Linked DNA regions of Homo sapiens: all the other regions are linked to region 4. Evidence: promoter capture Hi-C in 16 types of primary human blood cells and fetal thymus (Javierre and others, 2016). All regions are on one chromosome and are shown on one strand. Each heading gives the region's core, a stretch centred on a gene start or on the middle of the fragment in contact. The rest is flanking DNA. Distances are from core to core; before and after follow the strand shown.

Region 1 (4,189 bases), core at 1,288-3,787, 250 kb after region 4:
TCCCGTGCAGACCCCTCACCAACTGCGTCTCCGGCTGACAAAATGAATCCTCCCTAAGCACTGCTGCTGTGACAGGCAGAGCCCATGGCACTGTGCACAGAGCCAGGCCAGGCCTACGTGGCAGCTACTGACTCACCACTGCAGGTGCTATCTGTAGAGCTGGCCGGGGGCTGCCTCCTCACAGCTCCTAGATGTCCAAATGCCCTGAACCTTTAGCCTGGCCTGAGGTGACCAGAGCCATTGGGTAGAGCACCTACTGAGTACAAAGCCGGGAACTATGGTTGGCAAAAGGGAGAACTTAGGTTTCCACACATCTAAAATGCAAGAACTCATTCTTATCTGATTCCTGTTAGCACATGCCAGCTGTGTTATAATTGCCTGTTAGCTTTCCTGTCTCTCTCATCAGAGTGCGAGCTCCTTGAGGGCAGAAACTACACTCTTGTGTCCCTAATGCCAAAAGCCTAATAGACGTTTAAGAATGAGTAAATGGATGAATGGCTCAGATGTCATGAAAAGAATTCACAATAATCATTGGCCTTAATATGACTGTGTATTTATTTTGCACTTTATAGTTTACGATTTATAGATCATGTTCTTATTTATTTTATTTTATTTTATTATTTTATTTTATTTTTTTGAGACAGAGTCTCACTCTGTCACCCAGGCTGGAGCGCAGTGCTGCGATCTCGGCTCACTGCAACCTCTGCCTCCCAGGTTCAAGCGATTCTCCTGCCTCAGCCTCCCGAGTAGCTGGGATTACAGGTGCCCGCCACCATGCCTGGCTAATTTTTGTATTATTAGTAGAGATGGGGTTTCACCATGTTGGCCAGGCTGGTCTCAAACTCCTGACTTCAAGTGATCCGCTCACCTCGGCCCCGCAAAGTGTTGGGATTACGGGAGTGAGCCACCTCACCTGGCCTTACAATTTACAGAATGCTTTCAATTAAATTATCACACTTGACCTTCACCCCTGACCTGTGAGGTCGGTGTTATTGCTCCTCTCAAAGATGAAGGCACTGAGGCCCAGAGGCCATATTAATAAATTTAGTTAGATAATTGATGGTGGAATGGGTGGGGTCCCTTCCACTAAACCATACAGCCCGATGACAATGAACAAAGAAGGGCTTTACAAAGACATGGCTTTATCCACTCACCCACCCATCCCTTCATTTATTTATTCACCAGCATTTAATATACTAAGCACTTTCTTTAAACATATTTTGGTAGCAGCACAAAGGAGTGGAATGAGCTCAAGTCCTGGGATCATCCTGGGTTTGCGTCCAGGCCCCTTTAGTTCCCAGCAGGGTGCTCTTGGGAACCTAAGCACCTCTCTGAGCCTCAGCTTCATCACAGGTCACGCAGCCAACACAGTCTTACCTAGCGAGGCCATGAGGAGTAGGATGCAGCCCCTTGGTTTCCAGCTAGGGAGCATTGATCTAGTTAAGGAGAAAAACACAAAAACGCATCATTGTAACTAGTGTGGTCCATGCTAGAATGGAGTTAAACTCCACTCGCTAGAAGAGTCAGGGAAGTTTCCAGAGGGAGCTTAACGCAAGCGTCATCAGGCAGATCCAGGAAAGGAAAAATCATTCCCAGGAGAGGAAATGCCTGTCCTGGATTGAGTTTAATTTTGTTTTTTGTTTTTGTTTTTGTTTTTTGTTTTAGACGGAGTCTCACTCTGTCACCCAGGCTGGAGTGCAGTGGCGTGATATTTGCTCACTGAAACCTCCACCCCCTGGGTTCAAGCGATTCTCCTGCCTCAGCCTCCCTAGTAGCTGGGATTATAAGCCTGAGCCACTGCACCCGGCTGGATTCACTTTAGATCAGCAGTCCCCAACCTTTTTGGAAGCAGGGACCGGTTTCATGAAAGACATTTTTTCCAGGGTCTGGGGAACAGGGGTGGGAGACGGTTTTGGGATGAAACTGTTCCACCTCAGATCATCGGGCATTAGATTCTCATAAGGAGCGCACACCTAGATCCCTTGCAACCTAGATCCCTCACATGTGTAGTCCACAATAGGGTTCACGCTCCTGTGAGAATCTAATGATGTGGCTGATCTGACAGGAGGCGGAGTTCAGGCAGTGATGCAAGCGATGGGGAGCCGCTGTAAATACAGAAGAAGCTTCCCTAGCTCTCTAGCTCACAGGCCCCTCACGTCTTTCTGGGTAGCCCGGTTCCTAACAGGCCATGCTCCACCCAGTCTGTGGCCCTGGGGCTGGGACCCCTGTTTTAGATGACATTAAACATTTTTATGAACACCTTTCTAAAACTGATTTCAGATTTCAGATTTCCTTTGAATTATTCTAGAATACAAAAAGCAACTTTGCCTCGTGCCCTCACATCTTCTCCATGAATCCCTTCAGGCCTCGGGAGGGCTGCTTGCCCTGCACTGAGCCGTGGCTGCCCTCCTTCCTCTCCGCCACCTCACTTTCCCTTGCATCAGTTCCCTCCACTCTGGCCTCACTCAGCGCGCTCAGCACTGTCACAGCCCTGCTCTCTGCCCCCGACTGCTGCTCCCATTGCGTCTGACCTTGCTGGCCACACCTGCCAGGCACCTCTCTCCGTGACATGCTTAATTATTGCTTTCCTCTTTTCTTTCTTTCTTTTTTTTATGGAGTTTTGCTATGGCATAGTCTCAGCTCACTGCAACCTCCGCCTCCCGGGTACGAGCGATTCTCCTGCCTCAGCCTCCCAAGTAGCTGGGATTACAGGCACCTGCCACCATGCCCTGCTAATTTTTTTGTATTTTTAGTAGAGACGGACGGGGTTTCACCATGTTGGCCAGGCTGGTCTCGAACTCCTGACCTCAGGTGATCTGCCCGCCTTGGCCTCCCAAACTGCTGGAATTACAAGCATGAACCACCGTGGCTGGCCAACTTTCCTCTTTTCTCTCTGCCTTTTTTTCCTTACTGCTGCTATGCTTGATGGCTTTTGTGTTAGAAAAGCTTGGCCCGGACAGCCACACTCTGTCAATAGTAGCTTTCTGGTTGTTTCCTGCTTGGCAGATTGACCCACATTCTCACGCTTCCCTCAGCCTTCAGCTGTGCACAGGTGTATACAGGTGCAACATGACTGCTTACCTGGGAAGGTTTTCTTCTGTGCTTTCAGGTTTGTAGGTATTTTTGAGATACTGGGTGTGCCGGTGGAAGTGGTGCCTCCAGAATTTGGGGAATGGGACAGGTGGAAGGTAGTGGGATTTGAGGGGTGCTTGGAAAACCTTGGTGAGGAAGAGAGTCTTGAGCCAGAGTCTGTTAGAAAGGAAGGCCCTGCTGGCCGGACATGGTGGCTCACGCCTGTAATCCCAGCACTTTGGGAGGCCAAGGTGGGCAGATCACCTGGGGTCAGGGGGTCGAGACCAGCCTGACCAACATGGAGAAACCCCATCTCTACTAAAAAAAATACAAAAAATTAGCCAGGCGTGGTGGTGCATGCCTGTAATCCCAGCTACTCAGGAGGCTGAGGCAGGAGAATCGCTTTAATCCAGGAGGCAGGGGTTGTGGTGAGCCAAGATTGCACCATTGCTCTCCAGCCTGGGCAACAAGAGCAGAACTCTGTCAAAAAAGAAAGAAAGAAAGGAAGAATGAAAGAAAGAAAGAAAAAGAAAGAAAGAAAGAAAGAAGGAAGGAAGGAAGGAAGGAAGAAGAAAGAAGGAGAAAAGAAAAGAAAAAGAAAGAAAGGCCCTGCTGCACCGCAGGCAGCCAGAGGAATCCTGGAGGAGATCGTGGGGGAGGGGAATTTTCCAGGACCTAGGGAAACCGGTGCTTCTTTGGAATGGTCTGCGGAGTGCTGACCACCCTGGTCTCCTTCGTGTTTCAGGTGAAGCCTGGTCTGGCCACTGTATTTGCAGGGTTGGCAGATATTTTCAGTAAAGGGACAGATAGTAAATATTTTAGGCTTTGCGGGCCATACGGCCTCTGTCACAACCACTCCACTGCTGTTTGGTGCAAAAGCAGCCATCGACCGACCGTACATAAACCAATGGGCCTGGCTGTGTTCCAGGAAAACTTTATTTACAAAACAAGCCACAGCTAAGTTTCACCTAGTAGTTTGCCAACTTCTGCTCATGCAATGGTGTTCCCAACTCACCCGGTGAATGCCACACGCTCCCCAAACCTCACCACTGCAGCAGAGGTCACAGCATGACAAGGGCAATAGTACTACCCTGTAGCTGCCATTCACCCGGAGTTC
Region 2 (4,393 bases), core at 892-3,391, 230 kb after region 4:
GCCCAGCTAGCTGCACCCCGCTGGACACAGGCCTGGCCACCTCTCCTACACGGAAGTTGAAGGTGGAGTTAGCTCCATTTACTTCCACAAGAGAAAGCAGAGCTTGATTTCACTGTTAAAAGCCATTTTCCCGACCTGAGAAGTGTTGGGCGCTGTCTCCTTCCTGTCTTCTGCCCTGTGGCTTTCTTTTCCCTCTAGTGAGGAGAGCAGAGTAAGGAGATTTTTTTTTTTTTTTTTTTTTTTTTTTTTTTTTTTTTTTTTTTTTTTTTTTTGGAGACGGCGTCTCGCTCTGTCGCCCAGGCTGGAGTGCGGTGGTGCGATCTTGGCTCACCGCAAGCTCCGCCTCCCGGGTTCAAGCAATTTTTCTGCCGCAGCCTCCTGAGTAGCTCCCAAAGTGCTAGGGTTACAGGCATCAGCCACCGCGCCTGGCCGAAGCCTGCTTTTTGTTAGTCTCTGGGGCAGACCTGACTCGGGCCAGGGAGCTCTGGGGAGCCTGTGGTCGGGCCTGCGGAGCGTCAGGGAGCACGGGCCTGCGCCCTGGGCCTCTCCTGCCCAATTTTGGCAGTCACTGTTGGAGAATGCAGCAGCTGAGCTCCTTGTTGGAGGAAAATGAGCCTAAGGCTTATTTTCTCAGGCTTTAAGTAAACGCTCTGCGGTTTAAAAGCTTTTGGAAAATGCCTGTTTATGGGAGTCTATTTTATGTACAGGTGTCAGCAATCTATCTGGAGAAAAAGTGTTTCCTGGAAGCCTAGGAACATGGCTGGGACCCCCGGGTGGACGGGAAATGCCTCAGCTCCAGCTCACTTTTAGGGACCAAATAGTTCTGGCTGAGGAATGGAAGGAGCATGGTCGGGGGATTTTACCCCAAAGGCCTGGCTCTAATATTTTGCCCTGTTTGCCTCCACCTTTGGGACTGGGCTTTGGGAACAGACAATGCCACAGGGTTGAAGAGCCTGAGTGTCTGAATCTTGCCCTGTTACAGCCCTCTCTCCCCTTGATGTCCTCAAGACATGGAGGTCAAGGCAAATGTCTGCTTTGGATCCTGATAAGCTAATGTGGACCGTGTTGAGAATGCCTCTTTATTGGGCAGGCTGGGGGCCCAGGACCAAGTCACGTGGCTGTTCCCCCAAGCCCACGCATACATCTTTCCGTGGGAGGAAAAGCCTATCTGGGAAGAAGCTGCCCACCAGGAAGAGCCAGGGGCTGGGAGCCTTCACCCCAGGACCTGAGACATGGCAGGTCTGGACCAGCTGCTACCTAGACCACCTGGGGGTAGGGGAGACCCCCATAGATGGGGAGACCGGAGGCTCCCTTGCCTCTCAGCAGGTGGAGGGAGAGAAGAGAGGCAGAGCTTCTCTGGGCAGGACAGTCCCAGCCAGGGGCACTCGACCCCGTTGGCCCCAGCCTTTCCCACATTTTTGATAACATTGTTTTTATTGGTAAATACGCCTCACATACATAAACTTGCGTAAAAGTGTGTGTCCAGTTGAATGAAGAATTATGATGTGGACACCTGGGTAATACTCCTTAGGTCAGGAACTAGACTAGAACTTGCACCCTGGAAGCCCCTGGGTGTGTCTCCCCGGCCAAACCCTTCCTCCTTGCAGAGTCATCATCCTCCTAGCTTTTAGGATGGTCATCTCTTTTCTTTCCTTTATAGTCTGATCGCTTATGTATGTATTCTTAAACAATGCACTTTAGCTTTGGCTGTTTTTCAGCTCTATAGAAACGGAATCATACTCTATGGATTCTTTTTTTTTTTTTTTTTTTTTTTTTTTTTTTGAGATGGAGTCTCACTCTGTCTCCCAGGCTGGAGTGCAGTGGCGCAATCTTGGCTCATTATAACGTCCACCTCCTGGGTTCAAGCAATTCTCCTGCCTCAGACTCCTGAGAAGCTGGGATTATAGACGCCCGCCACCATGCCTGGCTAATTTTTGTATTTTTAGTAGAGGTGGGGTTTCACCATGTTGGCCAGGCTGATCTCGAACTCCTGACCTCAAATAATCCACCCACCTTGGCCTCCCAAAGTGTTGGGATTACAGGCGTGAGCCACCGTGCCCGGCCTGGGTGCTTTTATCTTGCTTCTTTCCTTCAACATTGCTTTTTGAGATGCATCTATATGTGTGGCTTAAGTTCACTGAGTTTTCATTGCGGTATAGCATTTTCTTGTATGAATCTGCCACAACTACTTATTCACTTCCCTGTAAATGGAAAATTGGCTGTGGAATGGGTTGTTAGCAGTGGACAAGGCTGTGATGAATATTTCTGAGGGTGAGTCACTGTGCACACGTGCTCAAGTTTCTCTATAGTCTGCACCTAGAATTGGAAGTTCTGGATTTCCATATCCATAATTTTAAACATAATGCCACTCTTTTCCAAAGGGATAAATTGGGTTGTCCAAATCTTCATGGGTTTGTCTATTTATCATTTTAGTTTTGTCATTTTTTTGCTTTATATATTTTGAAGCTATGTTATTAATACATAAAATTATATCTTTTGGTGAATTGAGCATATTCAAAAACACTTTTGGCTTACATTCAAAAATGTCCCTAAGAGCACTGTGCACTGCCAACACTGAGCAAGAGCCCCGTGTAGAAAACTCACCAAATGGTATCTTCGTATCATTAAGAAGTGACCCAAATGATCTCTGCTAATGCCTTTTGCTTTTAAGCCTATGTTGTATTTGTAACAGGATCTTGGGAAAAAGAGACCACAGAAGAGCAAAGTTGGTAAGTGTGAGCCATAGAAGGTTGGAGAGAGGAGCAAGGTTGCTCCCCAGTGAGGTCTTGGCCCCTCTCCCTTCTCTTCGGAGATGGCATCTTATTATAATTCCTCCAGGCTCAGGGATACAGAAGTGTCCTCAGTTCTCTCCCTCAAGGGAACTGGAATGAGGCACAGGAGGTGGAGCAAAACCTTGAGGACAGCCACGTGCACCTGCCGGTTCCCAGAAGCTGAGCAACAGAGACCCAGCTGTGCACAGCTGTGGCCTCTCCACATGCTCACCCGCCACCCCAGGGGAGTTGGTGGCTGGTGCCTCCCTCCCTGAATTTTTTCCTTGCGTGTTGATTTTCCTTGAGCTCTGGGTGTGAGAATGCTCTCAGGTGCTGTGTTAGAATGATGTGCTTCCTCTCAGCTCACACAGAGGGCCAGATATTTGTCAATTTTGTTGTTCTTTCATTCATGTATGTATTAGTCAATCAGTCAACAAGTATTAATTGAGCACTGCTCTGTGCAGGCATTGGGCTGTTCTGGTTCTTCTTTTTGAGTTTCTTGGTCGCTGTTTATGGACAGTAGATAACACTGTGTTTGAAAGGCCAGAGATGCACTCTGAGGTCCTGCGGTGGCCAGGAAGGCTTTGGCCAGTTAGTAGGGGAGGGTGAGCAAGGGAGGTCTCCCCACTTCCTCGGACTCTTCTCTGTGCAAGTCGGAAACCTCTGATGTGAACATTTCTTGCTACAGGATAACTCTGCTCCTGAGAACCAAGAAGGCTGGTGACAGGAAAATGCCCCCCTGAAGCTGGCTGGGGATCTCACTTAGGGGTGACATAAAGTGAGGGATGTGCTGCCAAATGTCCTTGATTCTTTCTCCCCAAACTAACAAGATCTTAATTAAGCTTCACTCCGGCAGACAATTCAGAGATAAGCTAAGTGCCAGTTGCCGGGGCGCTTCTAGAGGCCAAGGCTTTAACAGCCACCATCCAGTCATGGGAAGACTAGGACTGGGAAGTGGAATTTTATTGCCAAAGTGGGATGCTTTTGAGAGTAAAAGAGGTGCTATTAATACGTATACAGGAATAACAGCTGTAAACCAGAACTGTCTTAGGCAAACTGGGATGTATGATCCCCCTTTCTAGAATGGTGTTTTTCAGAAGCACTCTGCAATGCAAAAAATGTAGTCTGCTTTTCGGCATGTAACTCAGAACTCCTGCTGATGAACAGGAATCCTCCAAGACAAATCTGACTCCTGCTTCCATTTCCCCTAGAGCACAGAACAGGAGCACAGCCCCAGATGCTGCTGGGTTGGGGCCACTTTATAAAGCCCCTCTGGACCTCCAGGACATGGAAAAGATGCATGCAATGCTCCCCTGGGGAAGTAGCAACCAGCCTGGAATCTCAGGGACTCTTTGAAGATGTGCGGGCAGGAGGGAGGAAATTCTTGTAGCTGGGTGGGGTCAGAACACAGGCCTTTGCTCCACACTGACATTTTCTTCAAAGGTCAAGAATGTGTTTGGGCTTTGTAGATGTTTTGCCAGAATATGATTTAGGGGAAGTTCCAAGCCCGGAGATTCAGTTTTTAAGTCGGCTGTCTTCTGTTTCCATGCCACAGTGCATTCATTGATAGTATTTTTAGAAAAGGATCTTTGAAAATGGGAAGGCAGGTATGACAGCAGGGT
Region 3 (4,626 bases), core at 2,098-4,597, 190 kb after region 4:
ACCTTATGTCATCTACAAAAAATTAGCTCAAAATGGATTTAAGACCTAAAACTATAGAACTCTTTTTTTTTTTTTTTTTTTTCATCTCACTGTCTCTCCAGGCTGGAGTGCAGTGGCATGATCTTGGCTCACTGCAACCTCCAGCTCCCGGGTTCAAGCGATTCTCCTGCCTCAGCCTCCTGAGTAGCTGGGACTACAGGTGTGCGCCACCATGCCCAGCTAATTTTTGTATTTTTAGTAGAGACGGGGTTACACCATGTTGGCCAGGATGGTCTCAATCTTTTGACCTTGTGATCTGCCTGCCTTGGCCTCCCAAAGTGCTGGGATTACAGGCATGAGCCACCACACCCAGACAGGAATTTGTGTGTGTGTGTGTGTGTGTGTGTGTGTGTGTGTGTGTGTGTGTGTGTATGCAAACATGGATTTATGAGTGACAGACTTCAAGTGCATATTTTTTTTGTAGTTAAAAAGATAACAAAATGTATAACCTAGTTTGAGACCAGCCTGGCCAACATGGTGAAACCCTGTCTCTACTAAAAATACAAAATTTAGCCAGGCATGGTGGCAGGCGCCTGTAATCTCAGCTACTTGGGAGGCTGAGGCAGGAGAATCACTTGAACCTGGGAGGCAGAGGTTGCAGTGAGCCGAGATTGCGCCATTGCACTCCAGCCTGGGTGACAAGAGTGAGACTTCATCTCAAAAAAATATATATATATATATATTCTCCCAAAAAGGTTCATCCCGAGAACACTGAAGAATAATTTTTGGGAATGTTAATGATGTGCCACAAAATTAGTATTTTATGATCAAATGAATTTGCTTTATAATATTTTATCTAAATATTCATGCTCCTGAAGACTCACAAAATAAAGGAAACTTTATCCAGCTTTTTCCAGAATTTACTTGCACATAGACTCCATTTATATAGCATGCCTATTGAACTCTGTAAATAGTGCAGTTCAGGAAAGATAGCAGTGTGGGAAATGTCACTCTAATGGTCATATACGTTTATCCCATGGGAGGTTAAAGCATATAGGTGAGAGGAGAGTGATCGCCCTGGGGAACTGTAATGAGAAAGGATTGATGGCTGTTTCAGTTGTTGTTTTCCTGTCCCTGGCTGCTGGCATGGGGGCAAGGGGGAGGCTGAGGCTCAGGTCTTAGAGAACAGAACATTGCATTTCACTTCACAGCACCTTGCAGACCCTGTGGTTTTTACAGATTGAAGGTTTGTGGCAACCCTCTGTTGAGCAAGTCTATCAGTGCCATTTTTCCAACAGCATGTGTGCACATTTCCTGTCTCTGTCACATTTTTGGTAATTCTTGCACTATTTCAAACTTTTTCATTATTATATTGTTACGGTGATACATGATCAGTTATCGTTGATGTTGCTATGGTAACTGTCTTGGGAGCACCATGAACTGCACCCATTTAAGATGATGAACTTAGCCAGGTGCAGTGACTCACACCTGTAATCCCAGCACTTTGGGAGGCCAAGGTGGGCAGATCACCTGAGGTCAGGAGTTTGAGACCAGCCTGACCAACATGGTGAAACCCCATCTCTACTAAAAATACAAAATTAGCTGGACGTGGTGGCGCATGCCTATAATCCCAGCAACTCGGGAGGCTGAGGCAGGAGCATCACTTGAACCTGGGAGGCGGAGGTTGCGGTGAGCCGAGATCACGCCATTGCACTCCAGCCTGGGCAACAAGAGTGAAACTCTGTCTCAAAAAGAAAAAGATGATGAACTTAAATGTTGTGCGTTCTGACTGCTCCACCCACCTGACGTTTTCCCCCTCCTACCTCTCTCTCAGGCCTCTTTATTCCCTAAGACACAACAATATTGAAATTAGGCCAATTAATAACCTTACAATGGCTTCTAAGGGTTCAAGTGAAAAGAAATATTTACATGTCTCTCACTTTAAGTGAAAAGCTAGAAATGATTAAGCTTAATGAATAGGGCACGTTGAAAGCCAAGATAGGCTGAAAGCTAGGCCTCTTGCACCAAACAGCCAAGTTAGGAGTGCAAAGAAAAAGTATTTGAAGAGAATTAAAAGAGCTACTCTAGTGAACCCACAAATGATAAGAAAGCAAAACAGCCTTATTGCCAAATGGAGAAGTTTGAGTGGCCTGGTTAGAAGATCAAACTAGCCACAACATTCCCTTAAGCCAAAGCCTAATCTAAAACCAGGGCCTGTCTTCAGTTCTATGAAGGCTGAGAGAGGTAAGGAAGCTGCAGAAGAAAATTTTGAAGCTAGCAGGGGTGGGTTCATGAGGTTTTAAGGAAAGAAGCTGTCTCCATGAGATAAAAGTACAAGGTGAAGCAGCAGTAAGTTATCTAGATTGTCTAGCTAAAATAGTTGCTGATGGTGGCTACACTAAACAACAGATTTTCAATATAGAGGAAACAGTCTTCTATTGGAAAAAGAGGGTGTTTAGGACTGTCATAGCTAGAGAGAAGTGAGCGCCCAGCTTCAAAGGACAGGCTGATTCTCTGGTTAGCGGTTAATGCAGCTGGTGACTTTTAAGTTGAAGCCAGTATTCATTTACCATCCCTAAAATCCTTGAGTTCTTAAGAATTACGCTGAATCTACCCTGCCTGTGCTGTAGAAAAGAAACAAAGCCTGGATGACAGCACACCTGTTTATAGCATAATTTACTGAATATTTTAAGCTCACTGTTGAGACCTATCACTCAGAAACAAAGATTTCTTTCAAAATATTACTGCTTATTGACAATACATGTGATCACCCAAGAGCTCTGATGGAGACGCACAAAGAGATTAATGTTGTTTTCATGCCTGCTAACATAAGATCCATTCTGCAGCCCATGAATCAATGAGTTATTTTGACTTTCAATTGTTATTATTTAATATTTTTTAAGTCTACAGCTGCCATAGATTGAGATTCCTCTGATGGATCTGAGCAAAGTAAATTGAAACCCCTCTGGAAAGGATTCACCATTCTGGGTGCCATTAGAATATTTGTGATTCATGGGAGGAGGTTAAAATATTAACATTAAAAACAGTTTGGAAGAAGTTCATTCCAACCCTCATTGATGACTTTGAGGGATTCGAACTTCAGTGGAGGAAGTCACTGTAGATGTGGTGGAAACAGCAAGAGAACAAGAATTAGAAGAGGATCCTGACGATCTGACTGAATTGCTGCAATCTCATGATCAAACTTGAATGAATGAGAAGTTGCTTCTTATGGAAGATCAAAGAATGTGGTTTGTTGAGATGGAATCTACTCCTGGTTAACATGCTGTGAACATTGTTGAAATGGCAACAAAGGATTTAGAATATTACATAACCTTAGTTGATAGCAGCGTCAGGGTTTGAGAGGATTGACTCAATTTTGAAAGAAGTTCTGTGGATAAAATGCTGTCAAACAGCATCACATGCTACAGAGAAATCTGTGAAAGGAAAAGCCAGTTGATGTGGCAGACATTCTTGTCTTATTTTGAGAAATTGCCTCAGCCTGGATCTTGCAGTGAGCCAAGATCGCGCCACTGCACTCCAGCCTGGGCGACAGAGCAAGACTCCGTCTCAAAAAAAAAAAAAAAAAAAAAATTGCCTCAGCCACCCCGACCTTCAGCAACCACCATCCTGATCAGTCAGCAGTCATCATCCTTGAGGCAAGACCCTCCACCAGCAGAAAGATTATGATTCACTGAAGGCTCAGATGATCATTTTTTAAGCAATAAACTATTTTTAAATTAAGATATGGACTTTTTTCAGACATAATGCTGTTACATAATACACTACAGTATAGTATAAGCATAACCTTTATATGCACTGGGAAACCAAAAATGTGTATGACTTGCTTTATTGCGGTCTTCACTTTATTGCGGTCCTCACTTTATTGCGGTGGCCTGGAACTGAACTTGCTGCGTGTCCAAGATATGCCTGTATTTCTGTCACTACTCTGTGGGATCCAATGATTAGTGACAGTACGCTGGGAGCTAAGCTCCTTGCCTTCTCATCTTTCCTCTCTCAAGTCTCTTTACTCTCCCTTTATTCCGTGTGTGCCTGACCCCACTTCTGGGACCAGTCCTGTTCTTACCAGGTATTGAAGAAGATCCATGCATGGCCAGGTGACTCAGCATCACATTGTCATGGCCACAGTCCATCTCTGAGTATCTGCCCTAGATTTAATGATTGAATGGCTTCCTGTTTGTGAGATGAAGGCCCTACCTTTTGCTTCATTTTCCTAACTAGATCCATATCTTATTCCCCTGTAGCCAGTTCCAGTAATGGTAACTTGTGTAGTATCATGTCAAAATCATATCAGCAATAGGGATTTGCTTTGCTGTAGTCAGCATCTGCAACCACCTGTTGGCACACACACCCCCATGCAAGTCTTCTGGAATCTGAGTTGGGTGGGTCCTTCCATCTGTTGAGAAGTTGATGCCTCCTGCCTCCCTGCCTGCATGCCTACCTGGATCTCCAGATGTCCATCACTCAGTACTATGTTTTATATACATGTTGGGGTATGTCATGAGCCTCATTTGTGCCTGTGACCCATCCCCCATTTTAACACATGCTGGAGTTCAGGTTCTGCTGCCTAAATGTCCTCTCATTGCTTATATCTCACTGAGTCACCTTAGTGTCTTTCTCACATAAAGC
Region 4 (4,733 bases), core at 664-3,163:
CCTCAAACCAGAATGGCTCAAGTTTTAGGAAACACTAACTCATAATAAACAAAACTTTGAAAATAAGCCAAGATAAATATCTATTCCCAAACTCATAAAAACATTTTTAACATGCACTTCTTAAGAATGTTACAGAAAGAAATTCCTTTCTTAGGGTTCTTCCACAAGACCTTTCCTCTGGAGAACGGAGTAGCAATTAGTAACTGGTTAATAAACAAGTTACATTCTAGACCCTCTGCCAAGGGGTTATCTGATTGCAATTACTGACTTGAGGGAACAGCCATTAACAGCAGCAGTTCAGCAGTGCTTGGGCCGGGCGCTGTGGCTCATGCCTATAATCCCACCACTTTGGGAGGCCGAGGTGGGCGGATCACTTGAGGTCAGGAGTTCGAGACCAGCCTGGCCAACATAGTGAAACCCCATCTCTACTAATAAATAAATAAATAGATAAATAGCTGGGAGTTCCGGCGGGTGCCTGTAGTCCCAGCTACTCGGGAGACTGAAGCAGGAGAATCGAGGAGAATCGCTGGAACCTAGGAGGCGGAAGTTGCAGTGAGCTGAGATCCAGCCACTGCACTCCAGCCTGGGCAAGAGTGAAACTCCGTCTCAAAAAAAGCAGAGCTTGCCAGGGGAGAAGAGTCTCTCCCATCAGAATCCTACCTCTTTTTTTGTTTTGTTTTGTTTTGTTTTAAACGTTTTTTTCTTTGTTAATGGTTCCATGGCTACCTCCGGAAGAAATGGTGAGACCTGCTTAAGTAGTGATGGCCCACCAGGGTTGCAAAGTGAAGTTAAGTCAGGTGCTTAACAAGAGGAGGCTGCTTCTAACCATGCCTCCCCCTTAGAGAGTTTCTAACACCCCAACCACTGGCCCCACCTGTGGACAGCCCATTCCTCCCTCTAAACGCACAGGTCGGTTTAGATGCCTTGCTCAGACCCCTGCGCCCAGCATGGGCGCCCTACGTGCTGTGCCCACTGGGGTGGTCTCACGGGTGGGGGTGAGCTGTTTGCCCCTGGCGGTTCTTACCTGGACGCCCCCGGGAGTATCCTGGATCTGCAGGGAGAGCTGGTCCCCCTCGACATAGACCAGCCGTGAATACAGCTTGCCTGGAGAATGAAGTAGAGTTTGCTTTTTAATTCTCAAACTCCCATCCGTAAAAAGAAACACGCAAGCATAAAAGCAGGGAGCGTGAAAGTATTCTCACCTGTATTCGGTTCATAGTCTCCAATGAATCTCTTGGTCAGGAAGCGCACGATCATTGCTGAAAAGGAAATAGGAAAATCAACCGAAGGAGTAGAACAAGCCTGTCAAACCCAGGCACCTCGGACAAACTGGGGGGAGTGAAGGGTGCAGAACCGTGGGCACTGCTCGCTTCCAGAGGCTCCGCAAAGCCGTGGTGCCGCGGGCTTGGCCGCGAGTACGACTGGCGGGACACCTCTCCCGCACCCCATCCCCGAACAGGCGCCAATCCCGCCGAGATCCCAGGAGTAGATGCACCAGGAAACGCCAGGGAAGCAGGCCGGGACGGACCGGGACCCACCCAGCGCGAAAGCAGCCCGATTCTACCTGCACCCGCGCCCTCTGCTTCGGCCGAGGCGCCCTCTCTCCGCAGCGCCCCCAGTGGTCGCGGCCGGAGCCGGGGAGCGAAGCCGCCCGGGGGTCCCCGCCGCACTCACCGCTCTTGCCCACGCGGCCGGCGCCCAGCACCGCCAGTTTGATGTCCTTGGGCAGTAGGTAGTCCGAGGAGGACTCGGGGATGGGTGCGAGCAGAAAGTGCCCGGACATGCTGAGCGGCCGCATGGAGCGCGTCCCGGGGTCCGGCGCGCAATCCGAGAGGGCTGGGCCTCGCCGCACCCGGAGCCGGCTCGCCAGCTGGGAGTGCGGGACTAGAGGTCCGGGACCGCGGCGGCTGCCTGCAGAACTGTCAAGGCCCGCGGCTTTTAAAGGGCTTGGTGCGCCCGGGAGCGCGGCGGCCGTCCCAGCTCCTCCTCGTCTCCGCCCCTTCCCGGAGCGGCCGGGAGGGGCGGGAGCAGAGGCCGCGGAGCTGACTATCGCCGAGGCTGTGCGCTTCGCCGGGCTGCTAGCTGCTCGCGGCTCCAGGCGCTCTGCGGCAGGACTGCGGCTCCGGGGCTCAGACCCTGGAGATACGGCCACCGTCCAGAGCGCGCGAGTGGCCTCTAGTCAGGCATTCTGCGAGTCTCCTCGCCCCGCAGCAGCCAGCCGGAGTCACTAGACCTGTGGGTGAACTTGAGATAGGAGTTACGAGTTGACGAGAGAAGAAGAAAAAGTGCAATCAGTTGGATGTTTCTGCAACAATGGGACAGATTGCTGTAAAACGCTGCCCTTTTTATTTTTAAAAGGTGCTAAGGGGCTGGGCGCGGTGGCTTACGCCTGTAATCCCAGCACTTTGGGAGGCCCAGGTGGGCAAGATCATCTGCGGTCAGGAGTTCAAGACCAGCCTGGCCAACATGGCGAAACGCTGTCTCTACTAAAAATACAAAAATTAGCGGGGCGTGGTGGTGGGCGCCTGTAATCCCAACTACTCGGGAGGCTGAGGCAGCAGAATCGCTTGAACTAGGGAGGCGGAGGTTGCAGTGAGCCGAGATGGCACCACTGCACTCCAGCCTGGACCACAAGAGCGAAACTCCGTCTCAAAAAAAAAAAAAAAAGAAAGAAAAGAAAAGATGCTAAGGGGTAACATTAATATGGGAAAAGGGCGGGGGGCGGGGGGCAAGAGCTCTGAATTAGTATCAGTGGAGGCAACTGCAGTCACTGTGACCTTGCTAGGGATAGATGAAGTCCCCTTAGGGGCAGTGATGGTTAGCATCTCAGTATCCATGCCCAGCCCCTCCTCTGCAGGCAGGGGTTGCACTGGCTCATTCCTGAACACTCATGAGCACTCCACTGGCTGGGGGCCCTGGCCCTGCACTAAGTGTCCATCATTAATACTATCCTATGTGCTTGAGTCATGCATTTGCTTCAGTATCCAAATATTTACTTCTAGGTGCATGGTGGGGTCTAGGGTGGGGTGGGGGGCAGTGTGAGGAACAGGACACAGAGCTATAGACTGGTTCTTGGATTTCTGGAGCCCACCAGAAATAGCACAGCAGAAGCCTCAGGACTTTAACCTTGAACAGTTAGAAGACCTTCATGCCTCTGACCTCCTGTGTTCCAGCCTCACTTGCCTAATCGCCTATTAGACAGCCCCACCCTAATTCATACCTTTCTCTACCCTGGTTGTACCAGTTTTTGCTGCATGACAAGCCACACCAAACTAGATGGCTTAGAACAACAATCACTTACAGTTGTTGAGCCCTTTGATGCATCTGCAGGGAGCTTCCAGGTTCTGGAAGTGGGGGCTGGCTGCCCTTGGATAGCCTTACTCATGTCTGGCAGCTGTTGGCTGTGATGAGGGAGGGTAGTGACTGAGTTACATGTCTCTTCTCATTCAGCACGTTGGCCAGGGCCTGCCTTCATGGTAGCTGAGCAGAGTTCCAAGAGAGTGGGTGGAAATGGATAAGGCCTCTTGAGACCTAGGCCTTGAGAAGGAACCCATCCCTTCTGCTGCATTCTGTTGGCCAAAGCAAGTCATGGGGCCAGCCCATATTCAAGGAGTAGGGAAATACACTCCGCCCCTTTGTGGAAACAGCAGAAAAGTCACGTGTGAAAGGGCAAGGAAGCAGAGAGTGATGGAGAATGGGGTCCATTTTTGTAATTGACCATGCTAATGAATGTGTCTCCATCCACCCAGTGGCCCAAGCCTGGGAGACATCCTTGACTCTACCCACTCTCTCACTTCCACATTGATTAATCGCCAAGTTCCATCATTTCTCCTCCTATATTTCTTGGTGTCTCCCTCTGTATCCCTACTGCTCTCATTTCTTTTTTTTTTTTTTTTTTTGAGACGGAGTCTCGCTCTGTCGCCCAGGCTGGAGTGCAGTGGCGCAATCTCGGCTCACTGCAAGCTCCGCCTCCCGGGTTCACGCCATTCTCCTGCCTCAGCCTCCCAAGTAGCTGGGACTACAGGCGCCCGCCACTACGCCCGGCTAATTTTTTGTATTTTTAGTAGAGACGGGGTTTCACCGTTTTAGCCGGGATGGTCTCGATCTCCTGACCTCGTGATCCGCCCGCCTCGGCCTCCCAAAGTGCTGGGATTACAGGCGTGAGCCACCGCGCCCGGCCTCATTTCTTATCTGCAGAATTCTGAATAATCCTGAAGTAAACTAATCTAGACTAGATGGTGACTTCAGTTTACATGTTCCTCCCTTGGAGAAGCCGTCTCTGATCACTGCCACTGTCCCCACCCCTATCTTGCAGTTACTCACTCTCAGGGCACTGATCTCAACTATCATTACTTTCTGGTGGAATATTTGTTTCATGTCTGTCTCCAGGAGGACAGGGACTCTAGCTTGTGACTCTAGTACCCAGCACATAGTGGCACCTGGGACTGGCAAGGTCCTTAATAAATGTTTGTTCACTGGCTGACTTTCCAAATGAATGAATGAATGCTGTCTTCAGTGTATGAACTGGAAAATACAGAAGTCATGTTTCTGACCATTTTCCCATTGCCTTGGTTTTGAGAGCAGCTTGCTCTCAGGAAGACGTGTGCTGGGAGATGTCCTGAGATAAACTGCCATATTTAAGTTGTACTGACTTTTGACTGTTCATAAGGCAATTTTCTCTGTTAAACTGCAGTTTAATTGAAAAGACTTGAAGCAAGGCACCTTCCTCCCTG

The links. Contacts are between HindIII fragments. The CHiCAGO score rates a contact against its expected background, and 5 or more counts as called.
Region 1: a contact is called between a fragment that was not itself captured here and the fragment with the promoter of RASL11A in region 4, in 7 of 17 cell types (erythroblasts, megakaryocytes, endothelial precursors and 4 more). The highest score is 8.9, in erythroblasts.
Region 2: a fragment that was not itself captured here is called in contact with the fragment with the promoter of RASL11A in region 4 in 1 of 17 cell types (megakaryocytes); the score reaches 6.7 in megakaryocytes.
Region 3: a fragment that was not itself captured here is called in contact with the fragment with the promoter of RASL11A in region 4 in 1 of 17 cell types (erythroblasts); the score reaches 5.5 in erythroblasts.

Annotation. Positions count from the first base shown.
Region 1 is chr13:27,018,589-27,022,777 of GRCh38, reverse strand. No RefSeq gene overlaps it. Among named protein-coding and RNA genes, the nearest start is that of USP12-AS1, 100 kb to the left of the region's middle. The HindIII fragment of the contact is 823 bases long and covers 2,126-2,948 here.
Region 2 is chr13:27,036,347-27,040,739 of GRCh38, reverse strand. No RefSeq gene overlaps it. Among named protein-coding and RNA genes, the nearest start is that of USP12-AS1, 87 kb to the left of the region's middle. RefSeq lists an enhancer at 3,744-4,393. The HindIII fragment of the contact is 2,949 bases long and covers 667-3,615 here.
Region 3 is chr13:27,079,954-27,084,579 of GRCh38, reverse strand. All of the region lies in intron 6 of USP12 (ubiquitin specific peptidase 12), which reads left to right. Among named protein-coding and RNA genes, the nearest start is that of USP12-AS1, 43 kb to the left of the region's middle. The HindIII fragment of the contact is 2,796 bases long and covers 1,950-4,626 here.
Region 4 is chr13:27,268,010-27,272,742 of GRCh38, reverse strand. RASL11A (RAS like family 11 member A) reads right to left here and starts at 1,913. Exons shown (of 4, transcript NM_206827.2): 1 at 1,675-1,913; 2 at 1,203-1,259; 3 at 1,025-1,104. The coding sequence starts at 1,798. RefSeq lists silencers at 1,513-1,742, 1,783-2,002 and an enhancer at 1,951-2,451. The HindIII fragment of the contact is 11,897 bases long and covers 1-4,733 here.